Regions from separate parts of the Homo sapiens genome. Here regions 1, 2 and 4 are each linked to region 3. The links are contacts of gene promoters, found by promoter capture Hi-C in blood cells and fetal thymus (Javierre and others, 2016). All regions are on one chromosome and are shown on one strand. The core of a region is centred on a gene start or on the middle of the fragment in contact, and the rest is flanking DNA. Distances in the headings are between cores, read along the strand shown. Region 1 overlaps MSI2 (musashi RNA binding protein 2). Region 2 has its middle 60 kb from the start of AKAP1. Region 3 holds the start of VEZF1 (vascular endothelial zinc finger 1). Region 4 overlaps AKAP1 (A-kinase anchoring protein 1).

Region 1 (4,352 bases), core at 148-2,647, 730 kb after region 3:
CATGTAAGCCATAAGCCCTTCCAATTTAACCTTAGGCTTCAAGCAACTGTGTTCTCATAGCCACACCTGGCAAGCTCAGTGAAAACTATGTTAACGACACACTTCTAAAAAAGTGAAGCCCTATCTCAATTCTTTAAGCAAGTCTTGTAGTGCCACTCCTACAAGGTTACAACATTTTCAGGACTTCTCCACCCAGGCACCAGCACTTGCACAAATAAGAAGCACTGTTGGTTTCAAGTATGCCCTGACTTATCCAACCAACCTAAAACCAAGATATCCACTGCTTGCCCTCCCAGATTTAAGGCTTTATGGGCCTAAGAAGTTGTCTTTTCCAAGAAAGGATCAGCTGTTTAGTCAAACTCTACTCCTCTGCATTAACTCCAAGTTGTAAAGCCTCAAAGAGTACCCTCCGAAAGAGTCACAAGGAAATGTTCGACTTTTCCTGATATGATATTGGAAATGCTTAAAAAACAAATAGAATCCTTGCAAAAAATACTGCAGTCGATGGAAACACGTCCTCCCACTAAGCATCAGACTTGTCCCTGCCCCCAGGTGGATGTTCAGAAGCCACCTTGGGATGGCTAACTTAGAGACGCATGGTTATCTCACAGGACTACTTGCCCAGCCTGTCCTGATACCCCGAAGGAACAGTGAATACCAGGCTTCAACAGTTCATGGCCAATGCTGTTTGAAATTTGAAATTCTTGGCAATCATCTCTGAGTGCTAAAATCCTACTGTTTATTCTCCTACTTACCTTGGGTTGCGCTCGACGAGGAAATGCAACTTTGGGGTCAATCTGGGAAAAAAAATAGAAAAGCAGGAGTCAATAAAGTACTTTAAGGAAAAAATATATGATTAATCACCTAATTATTAATCACTCATTTCTCAGGCTTATAATCCAGCTTTTAGTAACTTCTCAGGCAACTCAAAAGTTTCTTAAACTTTGATCTCAACTTTAACCATCCCTCCAACAGATCAGGTAACTAACATAGCTAGCTAGCCTTTCTGAAATGACCCACCATGCATTTCAGTGTGTGATGCTCTTAATAAACCAGATCTCATGTAATTCTTATTTAGGCAAGGGCTTCTTCTTCCAGACACTGAATATTAAATGGTATCTACATCTAATTTGCTATGCGTGGCTGGGAGAAAAGATGGGAGCATCATTATCATTGGGAAAAAAATCATAACCTGAAAATTAAATGTAAGTATTCTCTAGCAGTAGGTAATTGGATGGTATTTCTTCTCCCTGATGATAACTAAACAACACAGGAGGGAAAGGAGCTTCCAAAAATTTTTTAAATCAACAACATCCAAAAACTCCCCACAGACATCCAACACAGTGCTCTGCTTGAGTTAATTAATTCATTTTAGCAAAAGTAAAGTTACCCAGGATTAACCAAAAAGATCATCTGTTCTGTAGCTATACCTCAAAAGATAAAAAATAATTTTTTGAAGTAAAGAAAATGAAGCATGTGAGCTAAATCCACCTGGATTTTAAAAACAACAGGGAGTAAAAATCTATAAGCAACCTAAACCCAAATTAGAAAAGAAATCCCATCATGGGGAGGGCACCAAAAAAAAAAAAAAGTTACTGAATACAAGAAGTAGTCAGAATCTAGTGCAACAAGTAGGGAATTCCCCTACCCCAACCTCAATCCGAGTGGAAAAACATCCTCCAGTCCAAATCACACACTTGCAAAACGCATGATGCTCAATCAGGGTCTAGCTGTACAGCTCAGAACAGTTCTCCTGGAAGCATGTGAATCTAACAGGCTGATGTGAGGGAGGAAAAAAGTGACTGCACAGATAAAAAGAGGAGGAAAGAAATGTGAAAATATTCCCGTTGTCGGTTTTCATTGAATTTCTAAATGTCACAAATCTTTGGGTAAAAATGTAACACAGATAGTATAAACATGCTACCAGTTATTTATTTCCAGGCTTTGGCTTTCATATTAAAATGTTTTCCTTTTAAAAAGTAAATCTGAGCTTTGTTTTCACTTCTGCCATGAGAAGGAGCAGGGGAGAAAAGAGTAATGCTGTGGAGGAAAGTAGGGAGGTGGGGGTGGGGAGTGGGAAGCACGGAGGATAGTTCATTTGTTCCCTGACTTACATCACCTAGGGTCCCAGCCAGAAAGACATATGAGGATTTCCTGCTGTTATTACGGGGGCTTAAAGACCTAATAAAAGTCTGCATTGCATTCCCTACCTTTAAACATCACCTGAGAAATGAGAGATTACTTTTCAAAAACTAAAATAGACAAAAATCTCTGATCTAGAAAACTACCCTTTCATAAAGATTAACATTACTGCATCTACAGGTGTGTCCAGCACTGACTAGCGCTTGTCTACAAGAGAAATACAACAGGTGTGGATTTTCCATTCTGTTGACGTACGTAAGACAGAGGTGTCTTTTTATAAATACTCCCCAGAGGGTGTTTTTTTTAGTTGGCCGGCACACAATTGCAATCAGAAATCACCTTGTTTATGGGGTAACAGGTGTGGGGTATGTTGAGGGAGGTGCCAGGAGCTGGAAGAAGTAAGGTGCAATGAAGAAAGTGAAGTACTAAAGAAAATTTAAATCACAAAACGAAAAAGCCAATTCAGAACTCCTGGATGGTGTGTGGCCGTATCAGAGCATTATATCATGATCGAAGTTCCTCAGTGTGCAAAGTTTACACGCTGAGATCTCTGAAGGAGAGGAAGGGTCAAGTTAAGCATGGCAAATCCCAACCTTTTGCACATCCCTGTCAACTATTTTTTAAAAAACAAACAAAAAAGAAAACTACCAAAAATTAAAACATTAGTTAGTTAGGTACAGCTCTACTTACTGTATCTACAAGTCCTCTAGGAAAAGACTAGGGTACTATTTTGGATGTGAATGGCCGTTACCTAAACAAAGCTTTTAAGGTAACAGTAAACAAGATCCTCGTTTCCATGTCAATAAACCAACCGCTTCTGCCTCCTGCACTGAACGTTGAAACAAAGTCAAAAGCTAGGTTACACTAAATAATAGTGACCAAAACATGTCTATAAACAATCAGAGAGGGAAACTGCAGGCTTTGCACCTGATACAGAGGAATATGACCCACCAGCCACCACAGAAACCAAATACTGTTTCTCCCACCCAGGTAGCAAGAGGGGGTGGATGATAAATTCCCAAATTTGCCTTGAAAAGATTTTCCTCTTTAATTTCACTAGCTTTTTGAAATGGCTAGCCACGAAATCAAGGAGAGAAAAATTTTTCAGACATCTGTTATCATCCTACAAATCATTTCTGAAATTAAATTATCTAAAAGTACAAAAGGCTGGGCTGCATGCAAGCTATGACAAGTCCAGGACAATTAATAAAGCAACTAAGAGTGTAGGTGGGTTTCTTTCTTAGGAGAAGGCACGCATTCCTGATCTCTTTGATCAGAGAAAGAGGGTGAATTTGCAAAATCAATTCAAGTGCACCGAAGGTTGCCAGGTTTCTTTATTTGCTTTCCTTCTCTTCCATTCAATGTTAAAGCCAAAAGGGGCTTGAAAGATCACCTTGGTCCACTTATTTTACAGAAGAGGAAATTGAGACCCAGAGGTAGGGAATGTCTTGCTCACTTTCATAAGAGGCGGATGGAAGTAGAGCCCCATTTCTGGCCTTGTCCCACTACCCCATCACAGAGGAGTGAAGTTCCATGCAACCCAGCACTACAGCCCAATGTCATCTTAAGGCCTCTGTTTGGGGCAGATATATATTAATAAAAACCGTGGGGAAACTCTGGTAGACATAAAGGGAAGGGAGGAGAGGCAGGAAGCCCACACAGGGGCTAAATAAAACACTGCACACTCCCCCTCCCATTAAATGTATTGTTATATACAGACACTCTTTCTTCCCTTCCCCTTCTGACCTCTGCCTGGAGACTCTTCCCCCTTCTACTCTGGATTTTTAAAACTTGTGATGTATAAAAGTACCCATACTCAAATGAAAGGATCTGAGAAAGAAAAGGAAGGAAAAAAAAATCACTTTGAAACCCCCAGGCCTTATCAGCCTTAGATTTCATGCCATCTGGAGTCACCCCAGTGGATGCCCAGCTCAGCTCCGCCAGCGTCCCCTTCCCTTCCCAAAGCACATTCCAAATCCCAAGTGCCCCAAGAGAAACCTGTTGCCTGGACCTGTAATTAGCGCCCTCTCCCCTCCTTCCCACTGCTGTCCCCCTTGGCCACAAAGCAGGCTGTGCCTTCTCAAAGCTGATCCCCACAGCCACAGTTGGTAACGCGTGCTGTGCTTGGCTGACAAAGAAAAGTTGCATTTGCTCTCTGGTGGAGTTTCTCTGCACAGTCCCCAGGCCGGGAAGGCAGACTCTCCAGGAGC
Region 2 (4,748 bases), core at 449-2,948, 840 kb after region 3:
TGAAGAGATGCATAGGGTATAGGAGAAAGGGCGTGGAGCTTCCATCCCCTCCCTGGGATACCAGGCTTCACACGTTCAGCTATCCGGGAGCTCCCCCAACCCAGTCCTCTTGGGTATTTATGGAAGTTTCAAAGCATTTTCCCCCCAGGGTACAGGGTGGGACCCTCTCTGAAGAAAGCCTTAAGACCCACAATCAGAAAGGCAGGGGAAGTTGAGGCTGGGTATAGTGGTTCATACCAGTGATCCCAACACTTTGTGAGGCTGAGGCGGGCGGATCACCTGAGATCAAGAGTTCAAGACTAGACTGGCCAACATGGTGAAACTGTGTCTCTACTAAAAATACAAAAATTAGCTAGCCATGGTGGTGGGCACCTGTAATTCCAGCTACTCAGGAGGCTGAGGCAGGAGAATTACTTGAACCCAGGAGGCAGAGGTTGGAGTGAGCTGAGATTGCGCCACTACACTCCAGCCTGGGTGACAAAGCGAGACTCCATCTCAATAAAAAAAGAAAATGAGAGTCCTATCTTGAGTTAGGTGAATGGAGGGCAAGAGAGAGATTCTGTTTCCTGAAGCCTGCCCCTGAGGCCTAATACACCCAACATTATAAGTAAAGGCTGTAACAGGGGCTATGGGAGATATGAAGCAGAAGCCGTGGACAACAGCCCATCTATATCATAACACCACGTATTCCATTACCGGGTTCTACTGTGTATGTGAGCTGGGAATGAATAAATCCAGTAACTGTCTTGGGAAAAGCACATTTATATTGCATCTTATTTGTTTTTATAATAATGGCCTTGATTTTAAACATGCACACATTTGAAGCACACCACAATTTTTGCAATCCGTTTTGACATTTCTCCATTGTTTAATAAACCAAAGCTTAAAGAAAGGACAATGTTCTGGCCCTCTCTGAACCTCCAGGAGGCCCCATCATGAACATAGCCACAGGATGGGCAGAGACAGGGAGGAGTCCAGAGGGGCTGTGTTCTCCACAAGACACAGCCTGGAGGTGGGGTGGGGCTTCGCCAAGTGCCAGCCCTCGGGGGCACCGATGAGGCAGAAGATGGGCTGGGGCACCCAGTCTTGGCTTGAGCCCTCTCTGCCTGCTGCTCAGAAGGAACCTGCAGCAACCCAAGCTTTCTAAAGCCCAGGCTGTGCCATTCTTTTTCATAGCTGTCAGGGCGGTATAAAGCACATTGCCTGGGCCAAGGTGCTTTTGTCCCCCTGGAAAAGAGGGCTGGAAGCTGGAAGACAGCCAGGGAACTGCCCAAAGGGGTAGTCAGGGCCAGCTTCCTGGGCATCTGTCCTGTGCAGTCACACAGGGCCTCATACTGAGAAGGGCTCCACAGTTGGTTAATACTCTGCCGTCACAGTCTTAACACTTTTTTTTTTTTTTTTTTTGAGACGGAGTTTCACTCTTGTTGCCCAGGCTGGAGTGCAATGGCGCGATCTTGGCTCACTGAAACCTCCAACTCTCGGGTTCAAGCGATTCTTCTGCCTCAGCCTCCTGAGTAGCTGGGATTACAGGCATGTGCCACCACACCTGGCTAAGTTTTGTATTTTTAGTAGAGACGGGGTTTCGCCATGTTGACCAGGCTGGTCTTGAACTCTTGACCTCAGGTGATCCACCTGCCTTGGCCTCTCAAAGTGCTAGGATTACAGGCGTGAGCCACCATGCCCGGCCTACATTATTTTTATTTTTAATTTTTTAGTTTTTTATATTTAAAAGATAGAGACGGAGGTCTCATTATGTTACCCAGGCTGGTCTTGAACTCCTGGGCTCAAGCGATCCTCCCACCTCAGCATCCCAAACTGCTTCAGCCACTGCACCCAGCAGTCTTAAAGTCTTAATCTTTGTTGAACAAGAGGCCCTGCAGTTTCATTCCCCTCCCACTCCCCACAAACGTAATGGTCAGTCCTGGAGTAGCAGACTGTGGCATTAATAGCCTATGTCTGGAGTCGGGGTTCTATTCCCAGCTCTGCCCCTTGCTGCCGGGGCATCTTGGTCAAGCCATTTAAGCTCCATGCCTCAGTGCCCTATCTGTAATATGGGGGTAACAGCTATACCCGTTCAGAAGATGTTAAGAGAATCAAATCAGCCTTCAGCTCCCAGCTTGGCACATTACAAAGTACTCAATGAAGCTCGGTGATTAGCGCTAAGATGATTGAGGGCGGATTACAGAGGCAGTACTCTTGCCTGGACCTGCCTCAGAAATGCCTTTTCTAAAGGCAGGAGCAAAAGAAAGAAGCTTTGGGATTAACTCTTCCAAAATAGCAAATGTTCTCTCTTCAGCATTAGGGCTAACACCAGTGGCATTATTACACCCCAGGAAAAATGTGTCCTCATCAAGTCACAAAAGCCTGGTTTCAACCCACAGAGGGAACAACAACAAAAACGTCTGAAATGCTGAAAAAGCCAAGAGCGTCGGGTACACGTTATCCAGCCCATCTTTGATTTGGGAGTTCACTGAAGCATGACTGATGCATGGTTATCTTGGGTCCTATATGTCTCTTCCGTAAATAGACTTTTGTTACAAGAAAAAAAATGGACTGACTTGGAAAAACAGAAAGAAACACAAGGAGCAGCGAGACTTTTTCCCTTCTCACAAAATGGACAGGTCTGAGAACTCCCAGGATCCTGGCTGTTCACAGATCAATTAACCTCCTGTAGCCTCAGTTTCTGCCCTTGTAAATGGGGAGTATGCAGGAGTGATGAGGAACACAGATTCTGGAGACAGACTCCCGGGGGCATCTTAACAATCTCACTTACCGGTTGTGTGGCCTGGGACACACACTAGGCTTCTGTGCTTCTGCTTCTACCTCCTGTAGAAGCTACAGTACCTACCTCCTGGGGTCGTTGGGAGGGTGAAGCAGGATAATATACATAAAGCGTAAGGAATGGTGCCTGGCCCAGAGTAAGTCCGCAATAAATGTTAGCTGCAGACCATGAACCTAAATCCCCCAGCTGCAGTTGTGCTGAATAATGGGAGAAGTAGTCGTAGCAGTTGTTGCTATTGTTATTTAAACTGCCGCAGGACCTCTGATCTTGTGACTTCAGGTTCCTTCTGCATATGCCTCCAAAATGTAGGAGACCCTTAAGGAGCATCAGCGATTGGTCAAGGCCTAGGGATAAGCTAAACTCAGATGAGATCTTCCCAACCTTCCCCACCCAGAGGACCATGATCATAGGCCTCAGAGTCATTTTAATGTCAGAGAAGAAAAGAACCAGCTGGGCGCAGTGGCTCACGCCTATAATCCCAACACTTTGGGAGTACGAGGCAGGCAGATTGCTTGAGCCCAGGAGTTCAAAACTAGCCTGAGTAACATGGCAAAGCCCTGTCTCTACTGAAAAAAAAAATGCAAAAATTAGACAGGCATGGTGGCACATGCCTGTAGTCCCAGTTACTCAGGAGGCTTAGGTGGGAGGATCACCTGAGCCCAGGAGGTCGAGGCTGCAGTGAGCCACTGCACTGCAGCCTGGGACACAGAGTGAGACTCAATCTCAAAAAAAAAAAAAAAAAAAAAAGAATCTTGTAGGTCAGCACGTCCACATTCCTCATTTATAGATGAGGAACTAAAGCTCAGAGAAGGCAAGTGACCTGCTCAAGGTCACACAGAACAGGAGCTGAGCTAGGAAGACAGCTCAGAGTTCATGACTTTGCACATCCGTTCCCTTCCTGTTCCCGCTTACAGCTTATTCTGTTGGAGTCCCTGGCCCCTCACAAGGTCCCCCGACCTCTCTATCTCCCAGGTGAGCATCTGTCAGGTTATGGACTCATCTAATTATTGGCCACATCCTACTAGAGACCCATTTTTCTTACTGAATCAGGCCACCATTAGGTCCTGAAAGCCCCATAAAGTCTTCTACGGATGAGCAGATCCTTTAATCTATTATTCCCGAGTCCTATTTATATATATTTATCCATATGGCTATATAAATAGGGCTTTGAGATGTATACGTGGCAGGTTATTGCTGTAGCATAGCTGTTCTCCCCAAGAGGAAAACAAAAATGATGTATGGCAGAAGCTCTTTTCCATGCAGAAAGCTCCTGTCTGATTTATTAAGAGTTAGGTTGCAGTCACATGCTCTGAAGTAGTGAATCTATTGCAAAGTTATCTAAGAGCAGGACACTCTCAGCTCCAGAAGCCAAAACAGCAAGTCTAGGGTGTGGCAAGAGCTCAAAGAATCTTACAGCAGTCACTCGCTAGGTACTTGCCATATCCCACGGTATTAACTAGGATTCCTTTGGTTGCAAGTTTAAGCAAAAAAGGGAAGCTTGTTATAAGGATATTGGGTGTCTCCAGGAACTCAAGGAGAGGCATGGGGCTGGGTCTCAAAATGGCTACAGATGCTTCTCTCTTATGCATCTCTGCCTTTCTCTGGTCCTTAGCTCCATTCTTCCCTCTTGCTCCAGATTATCATTCTCCATATGGAAGAAAACATGGCAGCCACCAGCTCCCAAGTTTTGCCTCTTACAGTTTCCACGAGCTGACTTTGTACTTTCTCTGGTCCCAAGTACAAGGAATGGAATCCAAGTTCCCCGTGTGGCTCAAGGGTCAGGAGCAGGGTCACGAACCCAGAGCAGCTGCTGCAGGAAGCATTCAATGAACTGGGTGTGGGCAGGAACAGTTCCCAGACAGTGTGGGAGAATTTTGTGTGTCATCAGACAAAGCAACCCGAATGCTTTTTCTCTATACTCACTGTGTGGACTTGGAAAAGGCACTTAGCCTCTCTGGGCTTCAGC
Region 3 (4,819 bases), core at 1,624-4,123:
CCTGTCACTTGGCGAAAGTAAAAGGGATAATTAACTGGCTCAGAGCTTATGTGCAGAGTTCCAAGCCCCAAAGTTAATCTAGAACCACTCGATAACACCAATAAAAATATTTATTTCACATCTGTTATATATCTGGAAAATGTTCTAAGCATCTTACACATATTTCTCATTAAATCCACAGGTGACCATTGTGAGGTAGATATTTTGTTCTAATTTTCCAGATGAGGAAGCTGAGACCCTAAAAGGTTAGGTGACAGGTTATACAACTTGGAGTGTGGGAGGAGGAGAGAGGAACCTGAACAGGGCAAGTTGGGGATCTGACTTTTGTTTGGGTAGATGTAGGCACATTGTATTTTTGGCTTAGATGCTTTATTCATCATGGCTGAAGGTAATACCATTTACTCACTCACCGAAAATTGTTTACAATAATCTAGATGAATTTGCTGTCTTTGGACATCTGTCTTTTGACTGGACCCCAGTATATAGTCTGTGGAAGCTCACTTAAGGAGAGAGCTCCTTTTTGTTTGGTTAGAGAAATTTTCTGTCCTAAAAGTAGAAATAGCCCCTTCTAGGTAAGGATGGAGCATTTGATCATACTGGTTTCATTATATTCCTCTAACAGTTGGAACCGATTGTTTTTGAGTACTTGTTTCAAACTTCTGAGTATTTTCCTTCTGGAAAATAGCTCAGTGTTTAAAATTTACATGAACTTAAAAGGTTAATTTTTTTTTAAAGAATGTTTGAGGAGCAATCAATTCTGATTTTGTCTTATGGATAGAAATAGAATTAGCCATTTTCCTCAAGAAAAGTGATTCTTCTGAATCTTAGCTTTTCAGTAATGAGAACTGGACTGTTTCCACTTGACCTCTATTTCCTGTTAGTGGGAAACCGCTTCCCAGAGGTGCTGTGTGAAAGATTGCTGGGGAAAGGGTTTCTAGATCCCAGCATAACAAGTTCAAGAGTCCAGCGATATTGTCATTAGAATAATGGTCTTCATTAAGTACTAGTTTTCATAATCCTGAAGCTTCATTTTCACCAATTTGAAAGGCAGCTAGGGAGGAGAAGACTATGCAGGGAAGGAGGAAAACTCTGGAGTGCATCACAGAGACCTTGAGTGAGTTAAGGCAGGGAAGAAGCAGATTTGCTATCCACTGAATGAAAATAAGAAGAATTCCATTGTCCAAGGTCAGAGCAAGAACACAAAGGTTTTAGTTTACTTAGTTAATTCCTTAGGTTTGGACATTACAGGAGACATGGGGGTGACCATAGCAATTTAGCTGATAAATGTATCAGAAACTCTTTCATCATTTTCTGTCCCCTCCTATCTTAGGCTGACCGGTTCCCTGATGTGTTACCTGCTTCTGCTACTGATCCAAACTGCAGAACTTCTCATTCATCCCCAAGGCCTCCAGGCAGTATCCAATGGGGAATCAGCTCTAAAAGGAACCAGACCAACGTTTTCCAGCCCCTTCATTCTGGTGACTGAGGGGAGGAAAGAATGGGAGGGGGTATTCTTGTCTAGTGGATGGAAAGGAAACACACTGTCAAATTACTATATCTCCTTGGTTTTCTATTACAGTAGAATTCTCCAGCCATATTTTTATTGTCTATGGGGGAAGTTGGAGATGGTGACCTTGATTAGAAGTGTCTGGAGGGGGATAAATGGAGGGGATAAGATTCAGTTGGTTTTGGAAAATGTTAAAGTCTTAAAATAATGCGTCCATCTGAAGAATTTTTTCTAAAACCAGAGTTTATAAAAATATCACTGATACAGCCTGCCCCCTCATTTCCCTGCCACAGGAGATGTCTTGGACTAGAGACACTTGTTTAATAATAGCTTGTCTCTGATATTCCCAGTAGCTTCCCTCTGTGTGAGGAAAGGATAGAAATGTTCAGGACATCATCATACAGGCTCCTCATCTACAAAGTTCCAGTAGCAGTGACGCCTACACGGAAGACTTGGAACTGCAAACAGGCTGGGGTCACCTCAGTGACATCTGACGCTGTCCAACCAGAAGTTCGATTTTTGTTCTGGGGGTGAAGGAGGAAACAGACTGTACTAAAGGACTAAAATAATTTGTCTATACTATCTCACTTGTTTTTATTTTTGGCGGGAGAGGAGGGGTGTTGGGATAGAATTTCACATCCTATCTTGGAGTGAAGGGGAGGATGGGGAGGCTCAGCCCTTCACCCAAGAATAACCCAGTAATGACATCTCTACGCGTGGGAAGTGTTTCCCTCCACACTGAGAGGATCTGAGGCTGCACCCCAGTGGGATTCCCTGCTTGAGTTGGAAGGCCATCTCGCCATGAGATGCATATCATAGCGAGAGCGCAGAGGGCTTAGCCGGCCGGGGAGGAAATGCCAAAAGGAAGAGAGGCTCGAAGTCGAAAGGGCTTCCCCCAGTTTGGAGGTGGGGACCATGCTGTGCATGAGCGACTGAAGAGCCGAGTGTCCGCCGTGGCCTGTGCCCTCCGCTGAGGGTCTAACAGGGACGCGACGGTGCTGGACACCGTGTCTGAGTCACGGGAGACGGCCCAGCTGTGCCCAGCGGGCCAGCGCCAGACCCTGGCGTCCTCCATCTTCTCTCCTGAGCTCCCCCTGCTCCAGCTGCCTGAGCCACGGACCGCAGCACCACACACCCCCGCGGGGGGGGACGCCGCGCCCCATCCCCGCCCCGGGCCCCACCCCAGCCCCCCCGCGGGGGCCCTGACCCCACCGCCAGCGGGCACTGGCTGAGCTCCGAGGCGGCGAGCCGGCAGCGGGGACGCCCAGAGGGGGTCCGGGCGACTGGGGGCGGCGGCGGCCGGGCCGGGGCTCCCCCCCCGCCCGCGCTCGCCGCCGCGGTGGTGCGTCCCGGAGGTTACCGGAAGTGGCCGCGCTCGGCGCTGCCATGTTGAGGAGCCGCCGCTGCCGTTGCCGCCGCCGCCGCCGCCGCTTTGTTGTCGCCTCCTCCGGCTGAGGAGGCTCCCCGAGCGGGGGGAGTGGGGAGGAGGGGGGTCGGCCGCCGCAGCCATGGAGGCCAACTGGACCGCGTTCCTGTTCCAGGTACTGGGGGCCCCCCCGGGGGGGCACGGGGGGGACAGGGGGGCCGGGCCCCGGGCTGGCGGGCGGGCGGGCGCTCCTCCTCCCCTCCCTCCCGGCTCCGCTCTCCGGCCCGGCCTTAATCCCCCTTTGTTTTTCCGCCCGCCCGCCCCGGCGAAGCGGGGCTGCTGAGGTGAAAGGAGGCGGCCTCACGGGGTGCGGGGGAGATAGCAGGCCGCGGGGTGAACCCGGGGGCCCCCCAGCACACACACGCACACACACACACTCACACACACCCTTCCCTCTCGCTCTGAAGGGGAAGGGAGGAGGCCGGTCGCTGTCACCACCCCGCGGCCCAGAGAAAGGAGGGCGCCGGGCCGCTGGATAGCGCGGGCTGCTGGGCCATTGCGTGCCGGCCCGGTCCCCCACGGTGGGGTGAGGAGGTCCCCAGGTCCTGCCCTGAGTCTCCTCCCCGCCACTTCATCCATCTTTCGCTTGTTCTCTTTTCACCTTCCTCGTCTTTTTGTGTGTGTGCGTGCGTGTGTTGACTTTCTGACCCCCTCCCGTGTCCCCGCGAATAGCGGGTATCCCCAGGTTCCCCGCCACTCCCCCTCACCGCCACCACCCCTCTCGTGTTTACCCAGTTGGGGGGGCGGATGTTGTGAGTGTGTATCCCCTCCCCAAACTTTTTCACTGGATTTACATTTTTTTTTCCCAAGTCTCAGCCGAGCCTTGGCAGCTGACACCTTCTCCCTCTGTCCAGCTCTCCCGCCGTCCCATTCAGCCTGGGGAATCCCCCAGCCGGGCCGGCCCGGGGCAGGCGGGGAGCGGTGGGGGCCGGGACTCCTGGAGGCCCGACCTTCTCCCGAAGCGCTTTTCTTTCTCGCCCACCTCGAACGTTTCCTCCAACCAAGTGGAGAGAGCAAACAAAGTCCGCTTACAAAGCCCCCAGATGAGTCACTCTCTGGGATGTTGGTCTTCGCTTTTTTGCAAGAAACTTGAAAGTGACTGTAGCCGATGTGTTTTGGCAATTCTCTTGCCCGCCCACTTTAGATGGGGGACCCCTGTTTGGCAGATCTAGGCTGGAACTTATTTTTTTCCTACTTCGTTTCTGTTTGCAAAACGAAGCATTCAGTGGGCAGTAGCGATGAGCTCACGGGGAAACTTCGGAACTGGAGGAGGTTAGGAAGCTCGTCACTTTTAAGTGCGTTCTTCCCGCCTCTCTGAGTTATTTTCCTTTGAATACTTCGTGAAATCCCAAACGCGTAGCTGGGGCGCTTGATACCTTTTGAAACTAACAGGAACGGATGCAGAATTTTCAAAAAATTATTCTCCCAGCCACTGGATTCATCCTAGTGGAGTTAATATAGAGAATTGGATAACTCAGAAATTACCTACTGTGTAGACTGGCCTGTTGTTTTAAGACATATTTTTTCAAATGTGGGCAATTTGATCTTTAAGTAGTTATGGAAATATATTTGGGCTTCTTAAAATCTAAAATACCCAACATTATGGAATTCATGAACTTCCCCCTTTTCTCATTCTGATCAGTGTTGTTTTATTGTACTTTGATGAGCTTGCTAATAATGTGATAAACCAACTTGAAAATGCATTGGAAAAGAAATGATATATAACTAGCATGCATCCAGGTTGGTGTAAAGGTGGCAAATACTTTCCCCAGAAAAAAGCTCAAATGGTTATTTTAAAATATGGGATTGATGTGCCACTGAAGTGATTTTCGTGTGATTAAAAACCATATTAAGCATGGTGTCTATAGAGATTGAAAAAAAAAAGT
Region 4 (4,841 bases), core at 1,881-4,380, 900 kb after region 3:
GGAATCAGACTGCCCACCAATCCACACTATTAGAGAGTTTTTAAGTGTCCATTTAGTGGCCAGCCTTTAGGCTGGGCAACTTCACACAAAAATGAAGTTATGGGGCCAGGCACGGTGGCTCACACCTGTAATCTCAGCACTTTGGGAGACCAACATGGAATGATCACTTGAGCCTAGGAGTCTTGAAATGGGTCTGGGCAAGGTGATGAGACCCCATCACTACAAAAAAAATTTTTTTAACTAGCCAGGCATCATGATGTGCACCTATAGTCCCGGGTACTTGGGAGGCTGAGGCAGGAGGATCCCTTGAACCCAGGAATTCAAGGCAGCAGTGAGCTATGATCGAGCCACTGTACTCTAGCCTGGGTGACAAAGCAAGACCTCATCTCTAAATAAATAAATAAATAAATAAATAATGTTTTTAATGGGGTTATGTGGTTTCCTGAAAAATTGCCTGCTGGGGCAACAAGGGGTCCTCACTCCCCAGGCAGCAGTCTGACACCTAGCTCCCCAGCTCCCCAGCTCCCCGGGCTGCCTCAGTCACATGCCTGCCTGCACCAGGAGGCAGGCTGGGCCCCTGCCACAGATCCAGAATAGAAAAGGCAGCCCTGGAGACCTCTTAAGCAGCCACCCCCTCCACACACCCCTTGGCAGCTTCCAGGGTGGCTTTATTCTCCTCTCTCTCCTGACGAGGCGGTGGCAGCAGAGACAGCAGCAGCTTTGGCACCAGGACCTGTCCCGTACACTGCAGCCACATGCACTTGGCCCTCCTAAAGGATGCCACCTGCTAAAAATAGCACCAGCACATGCTTGGCCAGGTGAGCCACACCAAAGCCAAAGGACAAAGCAGGGAGGTTATTTGCAGCACGGCCTTTTCTCCCAGAGACAGCTAAAGGCACAGCTGAGTGTGGGTCTCCCTCCAAGGCAGTTCAGGAAAGTGAGAATCACTCCTGCTCCTTTTTCTTGGGAGTGGCAGAAAGGAGGGGCAAGAAGGAGTGTACAGAAGACTGAACTGTCCTTCAGATCTGTCATCGACCCAACCTCACAAAGGCACATCCAGGCCCAGGCCAGAGAAGGGATGGGGGCTGGGGCTGTGCTTGAAAAGATCTTACTGCCTCCTCTAATCAGGAGGCCAGCTACTGCTGGGTGACAGCCTTTGGAGGGCCAGGAGATGGTCTGTGACCTCCAAGTGAGGTCTGACAGGTGTCGGGAAATTAGTGACTTCAGGATTGTCTTTTTCAATCAGCTCAGTCTTCAGAGCAGTTTCCCTGAGCCCTCAGGCACAGCTTTTTTTATTCATAGTCATTACTTGTGCATTTCAAAAGCACCCGATGGTTGCATAATTCTGATGATAAAATATGGCTTTGGAAAGACAAGAGAGTTAAGAGTAGGATCCTGTACTTCAGTTTCCCATAAAATGAAGATGTTCTGTAATAGGGAATATCTCCCTCACAGAGTTGTAACGAGGCTGAACACACTTAAGTCAGACTCCATATGTGGGATCAATGATTTTAATCTTTGTAAAACCCAGTTTAGTTTCCTGAATGAGGATGTGGTGATAAAGGGGCAGTAAATAAGCAACAACCAATGAGCATGGGGGGCGGCAGGGGCAGAGGAGGAGGTGGGGAGCACGCCCCAGCCCAGGTCCAAGCCAGTCCAGCCCTTGCTGTGTCCAGGGACCAGTTTACTCTACTCGGATCTTGTTTCTTCACCCACAAACTAATCACTGTACTAACCTCATAGGGCTGACAGAGAATAAAAATGACACAGAAAAAAAAAAGCCACTAATATGCCAGTAGGTGCTCATCAGTAAGTGTCCTTTATGCTGCCTGGCTCCAAGAAAAGAGATCTCACATTATATATACCAAAGGTCAATCTAGCAGGGTTCAAACAAAGCACACCCAGGACTAGAAGAGGGGGCATCTGGAAACAAAGAACTCCCCACCCCTGCCACAACAGAACACGTTAGCATCCACGCTGTGGCCCCACTCTCCCCCAACACCTTCTGTGAAGAATGGCCCCTAACATTTAGGTGGACTGGAAACAGCAGAATGAAAACACAACCTCGTTTAAGAGAAGGGCCGCACTGAGATCTGTAGGAAGTCATCAGGTGGGTGAAGGACCAAGTAACAATATGTTGACATCTGACATTTGGAGACCAAGGACAAACCAGCAGGGATCTTTATGATAATAAACGGCTTCAAACCAAAAGGGCTTTCTAAGGGCTTAGCATCTGGACCTTTGCTTCACGCTCCTGTCCCCAGGTCCTTTCTGAAGGTCCTCACTCAAACTGTTTCAAAACTGTTCGTCCACTCCCAACTGGCAGACTAGAACTCACTTGTAGTATGCCATGGAGACAACCAGTAGATAATTTGTCACCAAAGCTGTTGGGTTTATGGACTCTGGAAGACTAAGCTCAAACATGTTATGCTTTAGAGATTTACAAGTTGAGACAATTAAGCTTTTAGAGTTGGAGAAAAAAAAACTTTCTAGGCCGGCGCTGTCCAACAAAACTTTCTTCGATTATGGAAAATGTTCTTGACCTGTACTGACCAGGACGGCAGCCACTAGCTACACGAGGCCACTGAGAACCTGAAATGTGGCTAATGTCACTAAGAAATTTTTTTAAAAATACTTTGAAAAGTTTAATTAGTCACACAGCTAGCAGCTACCCTACAGACAAGGCAGCTCTAAACTCCCCACACCCAGGACAAATTTAGGCAAATAAAGCTATCTTTAAAAATAAAAAATATTTAGAACAGTAGCACACCTTAGAGCTAAGAACTTGAGATGAACAGTGAGTTGTTTTTTTTCCCCTTAAGTCTTTGACATGTACTACCCATTGAGCTGTGCTCCCCAGCCCAAACACATCACTCCAGTGGCCCCTGGGCACGTTTGGTCTAACTCCAAGGCTCCCAGGACCATAATCTGAATACTGATAATTTTGACCAAACCTCTTTTAGCCACTGAATAAACCAAGATCTGGAAGGCCAACCAGCCTGCCTAGAATCACCGCCAGGTTTCAGCTCTGAGAGCTGCAGCAAGTCCCAGGCTCTTGTCAGCTAAGCCCAGCAGTGAAACAAGCCTCATCAGCCCTAGGTTATACATATTTTTACTTCCAGGACTCACCTCAGGGCCCTTCTTTGCTCCCAAGTGCAACTGGGCCTTAGTGACACCTGGCTCGGTGAACACAACCAGCCACCATTACAGAACAGGGAACACAATGTTTACCACTGACTGCTGCAAACTATCAAACCAAGCCGGAAAAACAACCAGATGGTGAAGACCCGGACAGAATGTGGACAAGGCTGCACCATTTAGTAAAATGAAAAAGTTAAGGCAAAGGACACCTTGAAAGCTATTTATTGCTGGAAAGCTAGTTCTCAGAATGCTGAATGATAACACACACAATGTTAACAATCTACTTAGAAAGCAGCAGAAAGATTAGGAGAAAAGCCCAGGGATTTAAGAATATTCCTTGGTTCTTCTCACAAAAGCCATCCAGAGGACCTAGTTTTAACTCCACACCCACGCTTCCTAGTTCCTCTACCCCTCAATTTGAATTTGTGTGACAGCCACTGAAACAATCCAGAATGACCTCCAGCTTCACCCTCACTGTTCTCAGAGGTGTGAGGATTAAAGGATTAGTGTGCTCATAACTCACCTAGCACAGTAACTATCAAGAAAGAGGCATCCTCTCAAGTTTAGCTCCCAGCTCCCCCACTACCTGTTTCTCCAGCCAGACTCTGTCCTACTTCAAACATGCTCACTGATGATGTTTTCCACAGCCCAAGCTTCAAATTAGGTACCAAGGCCAGGAGGTTCCTTCAGTGGGATGCCACATGTGATGGGAACTTAATGTTAAATGATCATAAAAGTGAAAACTGCCTGAGGTATTACACCAGGAAGGAACATGGAAGAAACAGAACTTGCCCTAAGAAGCAAGATTTAGGACTAAAATACACCCCCCACCATAAAGATGAGCAACTCTCAAACAGTATATGAGATGATTTCAATGGGACAAGATGCCCACAGGATCTACTACCTCCCCATAGTGGAAGAAAACGCCTGAGAATGACAAGCTGAAGGTATTAACTCATACCTGAAACAACTGACTTCCCCACAATAGGAAAACAGACCAAGCTACAGAAAGGCCCAATCATTCAGACTCACAGGGAAGATTAGGAAGGAGTGACCTAGGGGAACTCTACGGCCAGCTCTCTGGGTACATTGGCTACAAGCTGCCTGCTCTTCAAAGCCCTGAAATGCACACACAATCAAGTCATGTTGCAGGCTGGGAGCAGGAGGCTAGCCAGCAAAGCTTAGGGAAACCAATTCGTTTTTCCTCCCAAACAAGCTTCTGGGTCAGAGGCTAAGGAGAGGGGTGCTTTTAATAGAATTCAAGTCACTCAAGTAATTCAAGAGAAACAAAGTCAGTCTCAGGGATTGTTCAGGGAGGAGAGGGGAAGAGCAATGCTTAAGCACCTATCACAGTCCCCAGTATCACAAATATGATCTCCATTTGTCTTTAGGACAGGAAAAGGGAATACTGTAGAGGCTAACACCAGCCTTCCCCTAAAATATGGCTGCAACCCAGCCTATGTCCAAAGCTCAAGAATAATTTGGGTTACCAGGCAGCAAGATAAATTGCTTTTAAATATTGATGTTCAGCAACCTTACACTGGAGACATATCGACTTCAGCACCTGAGCAGGCCACTTACAACAGACACCTCCACTGTCACCCTGCAGTGGCCAAGTGAGAATGCATTTCCTAGAAACAACTGGGAGATGGGAGAGATATTCCTACAAGGAACTAGACCTAGACACAAATCCATTAGAC

What was found. The method cuts DNA at HindIII sites, captures the fragments that hold promoters and counts their contacts. A CHiCAGO score of 5 or more calls a contact.
Region 1: a contact is called between a fragment that was not itself captured here and the fragment with the promoter of VEZF1 in region 3, in 2 of 17 cell types (naive CD8 T cells and naive CD4 T cells). The highest score is 5.6, in naive CD8 T cells.
Region 2: a contact is called between a fragment that was not itself captured here and the fragment with the promoter of VEZF1 in region 3, in 1 of 17 cell types (M0 macrophages). The highest score is 5.3, in M0 macrophages.
Region 4: a fragment that was not itself captured here is called in contact with the fragment with the promoter of VEZF1 in region 3 in 1 of 17 cell types (fetal thymus); the score reaches 6.4 in fetal thymus.

The regions. Positions count from the first base shown.
Region 1 is chr17:57,258,596-57,262,947 of GRCh38, reverse strand. It overlaps MSI2 (musashi RNA binding protein 2), which reads right to left. Exons shown (of 14, transcript NM_138962.4): 5 at 756-797. Among named protein-coding and RNA genes, the nearest start is that of MSI2, 4.2 kb to the right of the region's middle. RefSeq lists enhancers at 2,663-3,186, 4,173-4,262. The HindIII fragment of the contact is 3,016 bases long and covers 1-2,905 here.
Region 2 is chr17:57,142,982-57,147,729 of GRCh38, reverse strand. No RefSeq gene overlaps it. Among named protein-coding and RNA genes, the nearest start is that of AKAP1, 60 kb to the right of the region's middle. The HindIII fragment of the contact is 1,113 bases long and covers 1,142-2,254 here.
Region 3 is chr17:57,986,308-57,991,126 of GRCh38, reverse strand. It overlaps VEZF1 (vascular endothelial zinc finger 1), which reads left to right and starts at 2,873. Exons shown (of 6, transcript NM_007146.3): 1 at 2,873-3,048. The coding sequence starts at 3,016. It overlaps LOC101929185 (a long non-coding RNA gene), which reads right to left and starts at 3,017. Exons shown (of 1, transcript XR_001752716.3): 1 at 93-3,017. It also overlaps a transcript of SRSF1 not described here. RefSeq lists enhancers at 2,271-2,410, 2,431-2,480 and silencers at 2,631-2,910, 2,981-3,460, 3,541-3,610. The HindIII fragment of the contact is 4,468 bases long and covers 1,027-4,819 here.
Region 4 is chr17:57,087,255-57,092,095 of GRCh38, reverse strand. All of the region lies in intron 1 of AKAP1 (A-kinase anchoring protein 1), which reads right to left. Among named protein-coding and RNA genes, the nearest start is that of AKAP1, 4.4 kb to the right of the region's middle. RefSeq lists an enhancer at 135-684. The HindIII fragment of the contact is 1,333 bases long and covers 2,464-3,796 here.